2 separate regions of the Homo sapiens genome follow, and region 1 is linked to region 2. The links are contacts of gene promoters, found by promoter capture Hi-C in blood cells and fetal thymus (Javierre and others, 2016). All regions are on one chromosome and are shown on one strand. The core of a region is centred on a gene start or on the middle of the fragment in contact, and the rest is flanking DNA. Distances in the headings are between cores, read along the strand shown. Region 1 overlaps LOC105370913 (a long non-coding RNA gene). Region 2 holds the start of IREB2 (iron responsive element binding protein 2).

Region 1 (6,699 bases), core at 3,875-6,374, 270 kb before region 2:
TGCACCAACATGCCTGGCTAATTTCTAAATTTTTTATAGTGATGGGATCCCCCTATGTTGCCCAGGCTGGTCTCAAATTCCTGGTTTCAAGTGATCCTCCCACCTCAGCCTCCTAAAGGGGTAGGATTATAGGCGTTAGCCACCAGCCATGTACTCTTGTATCTCTTAACCTGTTAGCCAACCTTTGGCTACCCCCTCTCCCTTACCCTTCCTCACCTCTAGTAAACACTACTCTAAGCAAATAGATCTTAAATATTCTTACCACAAAAATAATAATAAAAGTATGTGAGGTGATGAAAATGTTAACTTGATTTAATCATTTCATAATGTATGCACATATCAAAACATCACATTGAACACTGTAAACATACACAATTTTTATTTATCAATTATACTTTAATAAAGATGGAGGAAGAATTGAATATAATGTTAAAACAAAAAACAATTGCAGGCCAGGTGCGGTGGCTCACGCCTGTAATCCCAACACTTTGGGAGGCCGAGGCAGGTGGATCACCTGAGGTTGGGAGTTGGAGATGAGCCTGGCCAATGTAGTGAAACCACATCTCTACTAAAAATACAAAAATTAGCTAGGTGTGGTGGCACACACCTGTAATCCCAGCTACTTGGGAGGCTGAGGCAGGAGAATCACTTGAACCCAGGAGGCAGAGGTTGCAGTGAGCTGAGATCGTGCCACTGCACTTCAGCCTGAGCAACAGAGTGAGACTCCGTTTCAAAACAAAACAAAACAAAACAACAACAACAAAACAATTGCAAAACCTAAAGAAAATCATTAATCTAGTCCAGACCAGCCTTTTACAGATGAGGTCACTGAAGTGCAGAGTGGTGAACTGACTTGTCTGATGTTACACAGCAAGTCATGGCACAGCTTGACCTGAAACCCAAAGCCAAGTTGTTTTCTATTACCTCCAGGTCCTTCAGTCCAGCCCTCCTGGGGCTCTGCCTTGGGAACTGGTATTGGTGACAAACGGATTAGAGAGGAACATGCATGGAGCTCTCCATTTAGACTGACATATTCGCATTGTGCCTGGGCACCGGCAAGAAACAGTGCAAGCTCCAAGAGTGCTCGCCCCAACCCTTTTCCCCCTCCCCATCCTCTCTCATAACCAACTTCAGCTAAAAGGTCTGAGAAGAAAAGGGAATCTTAGATGACTCTCACTAGGGTGTAAATGACTCCCACCATGATTTTTGTTTTATTGAGACATAACCCCAAAAGCAGTTTGATGGATAGTGTGCCAGGCAGTAGGATGAAGACAGATGGGGAAACTGCCTGGGGTCATGGAGAAGGTGGAGGCACTGAGGCCCTGAGTGATTTTATAAGCACTTTAAGAAAGGTCCAGCACCATGATTTCTTACCTTCACTACCCAGGACCAATAAGGTCCCACGTCCTGACAGATTTTGTTTATCAGACAAATTGCACTCAGTCATGCTTCATTTTCCTCCAAGAGTTCCCAGGTTACATAGAATTGAGATAATCTCCCCACCTTGCCATCACCCCCACAAAGACACTCCATGTTTCTGTTTACAATACAGTCTTATATGGATTGATATTAGATTTTCAGGTGCTCTTTGCATTTTGCAACTATTGCTCAAGCTGGAGACCCAAAACGAGCACTAGCTTTACAGTCAAAGACCCCTGGGTTCCAGTTTCAGCTGAGAGACTGTAAGCACATCGCTAGCCCACTCTGATCCTGTCTCCTAGTTGTATAATCACCTCTTTCCCATCAATTGCGAGGCTGGAGAGAAAAGTGTCCACTCTGTGCCCAGTACACAGTAGGAGCTTAGTAAGCTTAAGCTCTCTTGCTTCCTCACTATCCTAAAGTGGTAGCGGAAAGACAGATGTGGGGAATGGCACCTGGGAGGCTCCAGCTGTATGCTTCACAATCCTACCAACGAAAAATCTGAATTAGGCTTCAGTTTCCCGTCTACAAAATGAGACAGGACAGGAGTGGGTAGGAAGAGGAGGAGCTTGGCCTTGTTGGTTTAAGCTGGGCTCGTCTGATTCTGTAACGCGGGCTTCATTGCAGGGTCCAGCCCACTCCCCAGCCAGGGCTTCGTGTGCTCTGAATGTCTTTTGGCCAAGTCCAAGGCTATCCAGGGTCGGGGTCGGGAGGCTGGGTGGAGGGTAGTAGGGTGGAGAGAAGCAGTTCCCGCATATAACCTGCAGGTGGCACCAGAGCAGCGCGGGAGCCGAGGGTTCCGCTCCAGCCTTCCTGGAGACCCGAGCAGGGCGGGGTAGGGCAAGGCAGAGGTTGTGCACACCGCTCATCTGGGCAGTGGCACAGGGCTGCGGATCAGTCCACACTGTTTGAAATAGACACATGGGTCGTCTGGCTCATTTCCTCTCTTTGGTAGGGTGATCATATGCTTTATCATCCAAATTCTTCGGAGAGTGAAAGGGACACTATTATAATTGCACCGGCACAACAGACATAACCTTAGCTGTACCTTGCAAACCAGAACATATTGCAACCCTACCCTCCGGTCACTTTTTCTTCCTTGTTTCCATTCTTTCTTTTAATTTATTTTCTTTTTAAACACACAGCATTCTCTTTCCCCCAAGCACCACTGTCTTTGAAAATGCCCTTGCAATTGGGATATTTTCAACAGGGCAACATCTGCTTTCGCATCTTGAGTCTGAACAGTGTCTCTGAACCCACCCCAAAGGCTGGTTTTAGCTTCCAGTCAGAAGACTCTGTTCTCTGGCTTACCATCCCCATGACTCAAGAATTAAAGATGTCAGACGTGGAACAGTGACCCTTATCTCAACTTTGGTGCCTCTTTGCTAAATTTATTCCTGTAATTTTGTTCTGAGTGCTCATGTCCTTTATCTCATTGAATTTACATATATTAGTTTATCAAATTACAAGCAGACAAGCCCCATTAAGCAGGATTCTTATATTTCCAAGATCACCCCATTACTCCATTCAACCCCAAATTAGCATGCCATTTATCTCCTTGTTTCTGAACCGTCTTCACTTAATAGTCTCGTAAACATCCATCCATTGCAAAAAGGACTCAAACTGTTCTCACTTCCATTTTTAGTTGATTCATTGATATCCAAGTAATTGATTTGTCTGGAGGAGTCATTAGTAGAGAACTGTGCCCTTAAATTTAGTTTTATAGTGGAATTCTGCTAATTAATATCTCTCTGTGTCATTCTCACATTGCAGCAAATGACCATGGGTTTCTATCTTAACCTAAAATCTAGGTTAGAAATTTGATCTTATCTGAGTAAGATATTAATAGATAATGTGAGGCTTTTTTAAATTTACTGAACATTTTCTCAGCTAAGAATGACACTCATGGTCACAAATATCTATGTAAGCAAGCAGAAAATTGGGCTGTAAATATATAAACACTTAAAATATCATGTTTAGAGACAAGATTTTCCTTTTTTTTTCTTTTTAGTAAAGTATATTTGCTATGGTTGGAATGTTTGTGTCTCCTCCAAAATTCATGTTGGAACTTAAACCCCCATGTGATAGTATTAAGGGGTGGTGTCTTTAGGAGATGACTAAATCGTGAGGGAGGAGCCCCCTCATGAATGGGATTAGCGACCTTATGAAAGGGCTTGAGGGAGCGACCTAGCTCAGTTTTCTTCTTTTGCTTTTCTGTTCTTTCCACCATGCTGGGACACAGCGTTTCTCACCTCTGGAGGACTCAGCATTCAAGGTGCCATCTTGGAAGCAGAGAGCAGCCCTCACTAGACTACAAACCTGCTGGCGCTTTGATCTTGGACTTCCCACCCACCAGAACTGTGAGAAATACATTTTTGTTCTTTACACATTACCCAGTCTCAGATATTTTGTTACAGCAGCACACATGGACTAAGACAGTATCTTACATACAGCGAGGTGCATATACCTTAAGCTACAACTCCTTACTATTTACATATGTGCACACTCATGTGACCGCCACTCAGCTCAAGATACAGAATGTTCCCATCAGCACAGAGGGCTCCCTCTTGCGCCTTCTTAGTTGCTGTCCCTGCAAAGTTAACCAGGATCCTGACCTCTGTCACCATGGATTAGTTTCACCTGTTCTTGAACTTCATATAAATGGGATCATTCAGTATGTGCAGGTTTGTGGCTGGCTTCTTTCACTCAACATAATCCTGTGAGATTTAGCCATGTTTTGGGTACTGGTAGTTGTTTATTTTTCTGGTTGTGTAGTTTTCCATATTTCATTTATTACCCTTCTGTTTTTATGTCTAACTCAGTGTTTTGTGGGGTATATTGGTCCTTTTTAGCTAGATTGATATTAAACATCTTATCAATGAAGCTTAGGAGATTTTTAGAAGACAAAAGCCTAATAAACTCAAGCCCCCCAAACTTAAGCCAAGTTTCCTTCTCACCCCTGCTTGAGTTGTTCTTCTTCATGTGGTATTCTTTTCCTCACAAAGCTGAGGGAAAATCAAGGAACACAAGAGCTCTTCATCATGTTATCAGCTTAGGGATGCTTGTCATCTGAATAACAGGGTAGATATTTATAATCCAAAATGTTAAAATAACTAGAGCAAACACTTACATAGCACTGACTGCTGTTCACAGTGCTTTACATATATTATTTTCCTCAAAACAACTCTGTGAAATAGACACTATTATTGTCATCCCCACATTTTAGATGGGGAAATGGAGGCACAGAGAGACCATGTAACTCTCCCAAGGTGGTAGGGCCAGGACTTGAACCTGGGTTTTCTGGTTTTAGAGCCTGCACCCTTCACCACCACACCATATTGTGTAGCATGATACTTCCTGTGGTTAAAGTGTTTTCTTATATTAGCTTGGGAGCTTTTCTGAATAATTCAAATCTTATAAATTTGCTTCAAAGAATACAAGAAATTGAAATGGAAGATCTAATATAGAATGTGTGGGATTCATGAATAAATTATAGGACTCTCTGGTTTTAATAATAATTATTTGCTTATCTTGTGACTTTTGTCAGGCAGGGTTATAATGTGCTATCCTCATTTTCCTCCTCTTCAACGGGAGGAGATGGGCTCAGAGACAGGCACAATTTATCATAAAGTCTCATCACACTTTCCCTCACCATCTGGAAGCTGGAGATAGGTTTGTGAAATCTTGGTTGAGAAAGAGTTGAATGCCACTTGTAGCATAGTGAGTTTTATAAAGATGGTTTTACTAGCCAGTTCTGTTGCAGAGAGTCCTGCAAGTTTTTGCAATTAATGTGACCAACAGTTTTCTCACAAAGATTATCAGGGCTCTAGAGGAAATTATCTTCCAGTTTTATTCTGCTGCTAAAGTGCTCTATTTCTTTATAGATGAACTAATTAATTCTTGGTCACTTGTTCTCCCTTAGACATTTCTCTGCCTCTTTATGCTGTGCTTTATGTCTCTTTATGCTCAGCCCCAGGTTTTTCCTTCTAACTGCAAGAAGAAGATTATTGAAATTTTCTCTCTCTCAAACTCCCAGGCTCAAGTGATCCTCCCCTGTCTACCTCTTGTGTAGCTGGCATTACAGGTGTGCACCACTGCACCCTGCTGATTTTCTCTTTAACCTTCCCCCTGAGCATGTGTACACACACACACACACACACAAACATACATATAGACACACAGACCTCCACATGTATACACACACACAGAGACACACATATATCCACACATACTCATTAGAAATACATTTACACACACACACACGTGCACACACACGTATACCCACCTTCCTTCCATCTTCTTCTCAGGACTCAGGGCTCTCAGAGTAGTGGAAAGAGTCTTGTACCATGAGTCAAGGATCAACTGTGCAACTTTGCTCAAGTGTCCTTCCTTTTGAGATCTCATCTATAATAAACATTCTTATGTTTATTATAGATAACCAAAATAACCCATCAATTAGGGTTATTTTGAAGATAAAACAGATAGGAAGGATAACAGAATGATGACATGTTAAAAAATTAAGCTTGACCAAAAAAAGGTCTGGCTTTTGTCCTAGACTCCTGGGAGGTAATCTTCAACACGTAATGCCTGATAGGAATATCTTTGCCTGGGGATCTTGGGTCATGATGGATAGTCTAATAATAAGATGGTGGGGGCCGGGCGCGGTGGCTCACACCTGTAATCCCAGCACTTTGGGAGGCTGAGGCGGGCGGATCACAAGGTCAGGAGATCGAGACCATCCTGGCTAACATGGTGAAACCTCGTCTCTACTAAAAATACAAAAAATTAGCTGGGCGTCATGGTGGGCACCCGTGGTCCCAGCTACTTGGGAGGCTGAGGCAGGAGAATGGCGTGAACCCAGGAGGCAGAGCTTGCAGTGAGCCGAGATCGCACCACTGCACTCCAGCCTGGGTGACAGAGTGAGACTCCGTCTCAAAAAAAAAAAAAAAGAAAAAAAAAAAAAGATAGTGGGAACTAGCCAAGCCAGGAAAAGTGACTATGTGATTTAGAGTCCAGGCTTTAGGTCACCCCTAAAAGGACTGGAGACTGGAAACTGAGAGCAGCCACATGGACAATCAATCATGCCTCTTTGATGAAGTTCCAATAAAAACCCTGAACACTGAGGCTTGAGGGAGCCTCACTGGCTGAGAATACTCCATGTGTATTGGCACATAGCAAAGCCGGGAGGGTAATGCACTCTGACTGCATGGGGAAGGGATAATGGACACTCCATGCCTGGTGCTCTCCTGGACCCAGCACTATGCCTTTCTTCCCCTGGCT
Region 2 (6,584 bases), core at 2,243-4,742:
GGAAAATTTAACTTTCAGATTATCAATCATTCCCTTTCAATGCATTTTACAGTTGTTTTTGACAGTTTCCTACTGATTCCTTAAATTTGAGAAATTTAGGTCATCTTCCTTCAAGTAAGCACATTTCTACAGATTATACACAGAAAGTATTTATACTCAATTTTCAAAACATCTTATGTGCTCCTTTAATTTATTAAACTATGAAATTTGGGTTAAAAGACTTCCAAGCCAGTATCACTAGATTATTTTGGAGAAGTAAATGGGAAATAAAATGACTATTCTTGTAAACGATCAATCTAGCTGTTTCTTTTCAAAATTAATGCAAACTCACCATCAGTGAAGGGATAAAATTAATGTGAAAGACATACATTAAGAAAATGACCAACTTCCTTTAACAAACGTATCAACACAAATCACTGCAGCTAAACATGCAAGGTAAAGGATATTGCTCTCATTTTGGCAAACTGTTTATTTTTAAATGACAGCCTAATTCTAAAATGGGGATTCTTTAAGATACTCCAAAATAGCTGTATTTCACAATACACAAAAAATATTGCACATAGCAGTCAAGAATATTTAAATTCCTCAAAATCTACAGAAAAATCACAAGAACAATCGTCTTAATTAAATAATGCAAGAAAAAACAAGATTAAAGCTCCTTCCAAAACTGACTGCAACAGATGTGGCATTCAATTTATCTTTTCATGTCATTGTCATGGAAAAGTTCACAAAGAATAATGAGTCTTCTAAAGAGGTCTCTCTATTGGCCCAATTGAGAAAGTTACTCAACTGTTAGTAAAGTCAAAACTTCCATTCAATGCCCTATAGGTCGCCCACATTCACTCTTCTGAGACCACAGAGAAAGGTTTGACCCTGATAAGGTCAATGAGAATGTCTGCCAAAACTGCAGGTGTGTAGGTTGGGGCAAACCATGCCCAATACTTCAGAAAAATTCAAATCAATGGGTCCTGTTGGTGATTCCTATTCAACAGATGGCAAAAAGAATAGATGTGGGCACTGTTCATTTGACAAAGTAAAACAGGCCAGGCATAGTGGCTCAGGCCTGCAATCCCAATACTTTGTGAGGCTGAGGCAGATGCATCACTTAAGGTCAGGAGTCTGAGACTAGTCTGGGCAACACAGCAAGACCCCAACTCTACAAAAAATATAAAAATATGTTTTTATATAAATGTGTTGGCATACACCTGTAGGCCTTGTTACTTGGGAGGCAGAGGCAGGACTGCTTTAGCCCAGGAGTTCAAGGCTGTATGAGCTATGATCACAACACTGTGCTCTAGCCTGGGCAACAGAGCAAGACTCTGTCTCAAAAAAAAAAAGAAAAGAAAAGAGAAAATAAAATATACATTTAATTGGTGTAGAATTATCATCAGTCAGTCAGGTTCTTCTAAAAATCACATTAGGCCAGGCGCAGTAGCTTACATGTGTAATCCCAAAACTTGGGGAGGCAGAGGTGGGAGGATTATTTGGGCCCAGGGGTTCAAAACTAGCCTGGGTAACATAGCAAGACCCCTGTCTTCACAAAAACAAGAAAAAAAAAAGTTTGAAAACTGCATTATTGGTTTCTTTGAGGGGAAAAACTAGTGCTTAATTAACTTAGATTTTTAAATGAGAAGTTAAGGTGTGGGCCTACATCTTCCCTGAACAGAAGTTGTCCCAGGAGGAGTTTTTAAAATGGTATAGGTATGTGTAGGTGTACCTGTTACAATACGGTGGAAATACATTTAAAATTTCTTCAGCTCAGCTTGACAAATGCATTTTCATTATTAGAGACTAAACAAACCCAAGAAAATGTAAAGCAACATTACCATACTTGGTGCCAAGTTTAGATACATCGAAGAACTTCTTATGTGAACTGTCATTTAATGTTTCAATAAGGTACTCAAAGGCGTATCCTGAAAAAAAAATTGTATTTTCATTAAATGCAGCAACAAAATATTTTATTCAGCTGAAAATACCTGGAAACTAGCTTTATCCAATAGAATTTTCTGCAATGGTAAAAATATTCTATGTTTGAGCTGTCCAGTAAAGTAGCCATTAGCAACGTGTGGCTATTGAGCACCTGAAATGTGGCTATCGTGCCTGAGGAACTGAATTTTTAATTTATTTAATTTTGATTAATTTAAAGTCACACAGGGCTAGTATCCACCACACTGGAAAGCATAGTTCTAAACCATAATTTGTCAAGTAAAAACTAGTAAGATAATTCACTCCTGAAATGTGATAAGAATACCTGGAAAGGGACAATAAGAATGATTTAAATAATCCACGGGGACGTTTTGGAAAGACATGTCTTGAAAACTGCAGAGACAGGAATTTGTGAATTCCACAATTAACATTAGAGGGACTGATTAAAAAAAAAAACTAAAAGACGGATTTTTACAGAGCATTCAATAAACCAAAACAAAAAAACTTCTCAGTTAAGTCCTTACCAGGGCTTAGTACTGAAAATAAAAGTAACAGAATCTCTAGGAAATTAGCATATTCTACCCGAAAGAGACAAGTCTTCTGGTTTTGCACGAACTGAAGCTGAACTACTAAGTCAAAGATCCAGAGGTCTCATTTAAACGTGCCTCAGCTCCCAACATTCTAGGGGGCAGTGGCGGGGAGGCAGCCCTGAGGTTGAAAAGAACCTTCAGATCTTTTGTGCAGACTCATAGCGGTGGGTGGCCAGGACCCTCAACATTGTTAAGGCTTTCATCCAAAAGGAGAAAACATAAGCACAGCCCATTTTCAGAATGAATAGTATTTTTTTCTCTTTTTTTTTTTTTGTAGAGGGAGGTGGACGGGGGAGGAGACAGCGGTGCAATAAATGGTCGGAGAACTGACTGACCAATGTTCAACCTTGACTGCCCCTCATTCGGCTTCCAGAGGCACAGAGAGACTGAGGGGCCTTAGGCTGGACCGTGGAATCAACATCTAGCTGCGTGAGACCCGAACACGGAGACGCAGGCCCCCGCCTTCATCGCTCGCCAATGGGGGGCGGGCAGGAGAAGACGGTGGGCCTCTCCCTGCCCCTGGTGTTGCTGACGGGGGCCAGGAAGCCGCTGGCAGCAGGCAGCGGCCACCGGAGAGAGAGGGGTGCGGGTCAAGGCCAGCGGTGGGGTGGCCCGCCCTGCGGGTGTCGCGCAGGAGGGTGGGGATCGGGAGCCCCAGCTTCCGCGGCCTAGGCTCAAAGGGCGGCCCAGCAGGCAGGCCCCGAGGGGAGCACAACCCGAGCCCCGAGGGCCTGGGCGCCTGCCGAGCGACTCCAGGCGAGAAAAGCAAGGAATTCGGCGCCTAGGCAGCGCGCGTTTCCAACTGCCAGACCCAGCTCGGAGGCCCGAAACTGACCTGCTTTTGGGGCGTCCATCGCCGGAGACCATATTATCCCTCCGGGGAGGGGGCCAGCGGGGGAAGAAGGGGGAGGCCGGGCAGGGAAGACGGGGAGGAAGACAGGCGGACTGGCAAGGGAGGAAAGAAGGAAGCAGGCTCGCGCAAATATCGCGAGAGCAGCAGAGCCAGCCCCGGGTCTGCGCTCGCGGGATTTGTCGCCTAACTCCCGCGAGATCGTCGGACAGGAAAACAAAGAAAGGGAAGGGGCGGAGCTAACCAGAAAGCGATTTCTCGCGCCGTCGCCGCTGTTCTCGCGAGCGGGGGCGGAGCGCTGGGGAGGCTCCAGTGGGGGCGTTGGCGTGGCTAGTTTGGCCTTCGCAGCGATCCGTTACTTAGTTGCGGCCTTAAGTTTTCTATTGGGGTCATGAATTCGAGCGGTGTTTGCGTTCCCGCAAGGTGTCTGTTGGAGTCAGGGTCGGAATCGGAACTGCTAGGAGAAAGAGCTCAAGGAGAACCGCTTTCCCCTAACTATAAAGCCTTGCATTAACTTGTCAGACGTGGGCGGCCCACACGCGTGTTTTCAAGTGGGGGCGGCCATACTGATCGGGCGCGTGGGAGGCGCTCAACTGTTGAATGAATGAATTTTTTCTTACCCTCCGGTAGCTTCCGTGATTGCCGACTTCTTCCCAGTGGCAGTTAACACATGCTTAAGCCTCTCCATCCTTCCGCCTCAGCTCCTCCGGTCCCTGTGTTCTCCACCTACCCAGCATTATCTCCTGTCGCAGCAACTTACCAGAAAGAGTCGCTCATACTCGGCTCTCCCCCACCCACTTCTTATCCTCTTCCAGTCTGGCTTCCACTCCCAGAAATGCCTTTAGCCAAGGCCAGCTATAACTCCACTTTCTAATCTCACATATCTCAATCTTGACTGGTTCTCTCCCATTGTTGAAAAATACTCTTCCATCAGCTTCTGTGACTTCAGACTCTACTTTTGTTTCTTCTCCTAAGGGTGCTTGATCTCAGGCTCCTCTGCAGACCTCTTCCTCCGCCCAGCTTTTAAATGTACTGGGCACTTGATGGGCACAGTAGCTCATGCCTGTAATTCCAGCACTTTAGGAGGCCAAAGTGGGAGGATGGCTTGAGCTGAAAAGTTCAAGACCAAACACAGCAACGTAGTGAGACCCTATCTCTACAAAAAAAATTTAAAAATTAGCTGAGTGTGGTGGCATGCACCTGTAGTCTCAGCTACTCAGGAGGCTGAGGTGGGAGGATCACTTGGGCCCAGGAGATTGAGGCTGTGGTGAGCCATGATTGCACCACTGCACTCCAGCCTGAGCAACACAGCAAGACCCTGTCTCAAAAAAAAATATATTGGACATTAAATGTGTCCCAGGGCTCTGGCCTTGTACCTCCTCCCTCTGTCCATTTTCCCTGGCCCATCTCACACTTCCTTTGACTTCAGTTATTAGTTAATATGTTGATGCTTCCCAGTCTGCCTGTGACCTGAGCCTATCTCCTAAACCCGGAGGTGTATATCCTAGTACCCATGGGATGCCTCCACATCCCAAGGCACCTCAAACTAAAAATCTCCAAAACTGAACTCGTCATTTCCCTCCTTAAACCTACTATTCCTTTTGTATTGCCTGTATTAGCGAATGGCGCCACCATCCACCTGGTTGCCCAAGCCAGAAATCAACACATTATACCTGACTCCTTCATCCACTCCCTTTAATCATTGATCCAAGCCCTGTCAACCCAAACTCCAATATATTTCCTTTATTCACCTTGCTATATTTTGTAACATCTCCTTTACAATCCCAGCATGAAATTCATAGGTAATATAATCTACATACACGATAAATAATCTACTTAATGACCTAACTGTAATATAAAGGAGAAAAATAGGAAAGTAATTTATTAGAAAATAATATGTATTATAATACGTAGCTGCACAGGCATGTCTATATTAGATGACAAAATTGAGTAGTCAGATGCTTGTATCTATTTATAACGAATGAGTTTGGTTTTACAGGACATATAATATTCGACTGGGCCAGGCACAGTTGGTAGCTCAAGCTTGTAATCCCAGCACTTTGGGAAGCCAAAGCTGCAGGATCGCTTGATGCTAGGAGTTTGAGACTAGCCTGGGCAACATGGTGAGACCCTGTCTCTACAAAAACTTAAAGAGTTAGCCAGACATAGTGGTGCATGCCTGTAGTACCAGCTACCGTGAGACAGAGGCAGGAGGATCACTTGAGCCCAGAAATTCAAGATTACAGTGAGCTATGATTGTGCCACTGCACTCCAACCTGGGAGACAGAATGAAACCCTGTCTCAAAAAAAGATAAGGCCGGGGCGGTGGCTCACGCCTGTAATCCCAGCACTTCGGGAGGCTGAGGCGGGCGGATCACGAGGTCAGGAGATGGGAGATCATCCTGGCTAACACGGTGAAACCCCGTCTCTACTAAAAGTACAAAAAATTACCCGGGCGTGGTGGCAGGCGCCTGTAGCCCCAGCTACTCGGGAGGCTGAGGCAGGAGAATGGCGTGAACCCAGGAGGCGGAGCTTGCAGTGAGCCGAGATTTCACCACTGAACTCCAGCCTGGGCAACAATGCAAGACTTCGTCTCAAAAAAAAAAAGATAATATTCAGCTGAATATGGTCAACACTTTTTATGTCTGACATTGCAAAATAAGGATTCAATATATACATACATATCATGCATAAATATATATTATGAATGCATATATGGTAAATGCACATATGTATAAAATGTACATATATATCATGAATGGCCTCTAAAGACTAATGAAAATATGTTAGTGACTTAAATATTGGAAGTGTTGTCACTATTGTGATTTTCTGAAATGGTGAATAACTCTTGATAAAGTTCAAAACAAAAAAAAAAAACCTTTGCTTTTTTTATGCAATAGTTGTATTCCTAGAAAATTCCGTATATATTAAAACCATACACAAATTACTTTTGTTTTTACTTGTATATGGGGTTAAACTCTAGGCTCAGATAATTATAAACAAATTTGTTGTTACTGTTTTTATGTTTGTGTGTATGTTTAATGTACTTGAATATCTGACAGTATGGGTCTTGTTTGATTCTTTTTTTTTTTGAGACGGAGTCTTGCTCTGTAGCCCAGGCTGGAGTGCAGTGACATGATCTTGGCTCACTGCAACCTCCGCCCCTCGGGTCCCGGTTCAAGCAATTCTCCTGCCTCAGCCTCCTGAGTAGCTGGGAA

What was found. Contacts are between HindIII fragments. The CHiCAGO score rates a contact against its expected background, and 5 or more counts as called.
Region 1: a contact is called between a fragment that was not itself captured here and the fragment with the promoter of IREB2 in region 2, in 1 of 17 cell types (fetal thymus). The highest score is 5.3, in fetal thymus.

Annotation. Positions count from the first base shown.
Region 1 is chr15:78,705,068-78,711,766 of GRCh38, reverse strand. It overlaps LOC105370913 (a long non-coding RNA gene), which reads left to right. Exons shown (of 3, transcript XR_932509.2): 2 at 3,662-3,779. Among named protein-coding and RNA genes, the nearest start is that of CHRNB4, 67 kb to the right of the region's middle. The HindIII fragment of the contact is 1,638 bases long and covers 4,306-5,943 here.
Region 2 is chr15:78,435,124-78,441,707 of GRCh38, reverse strand. IREB2 (iron responsive element binding protein 2) reads right to left here and starts at 3,492. Exons shown (of 22, transcript NM_004136.4): 1 at 3,352-3,492; 2 at 1,827-1,913. The coding sequence starts at 3,370. RefSeq lists a silencer at 3,038-3,277 and enhancers at 3,748-3,807, 3,878-3,957. The HindIII fragment of the contact is 13,990 bases long and covers 1-5,411 here.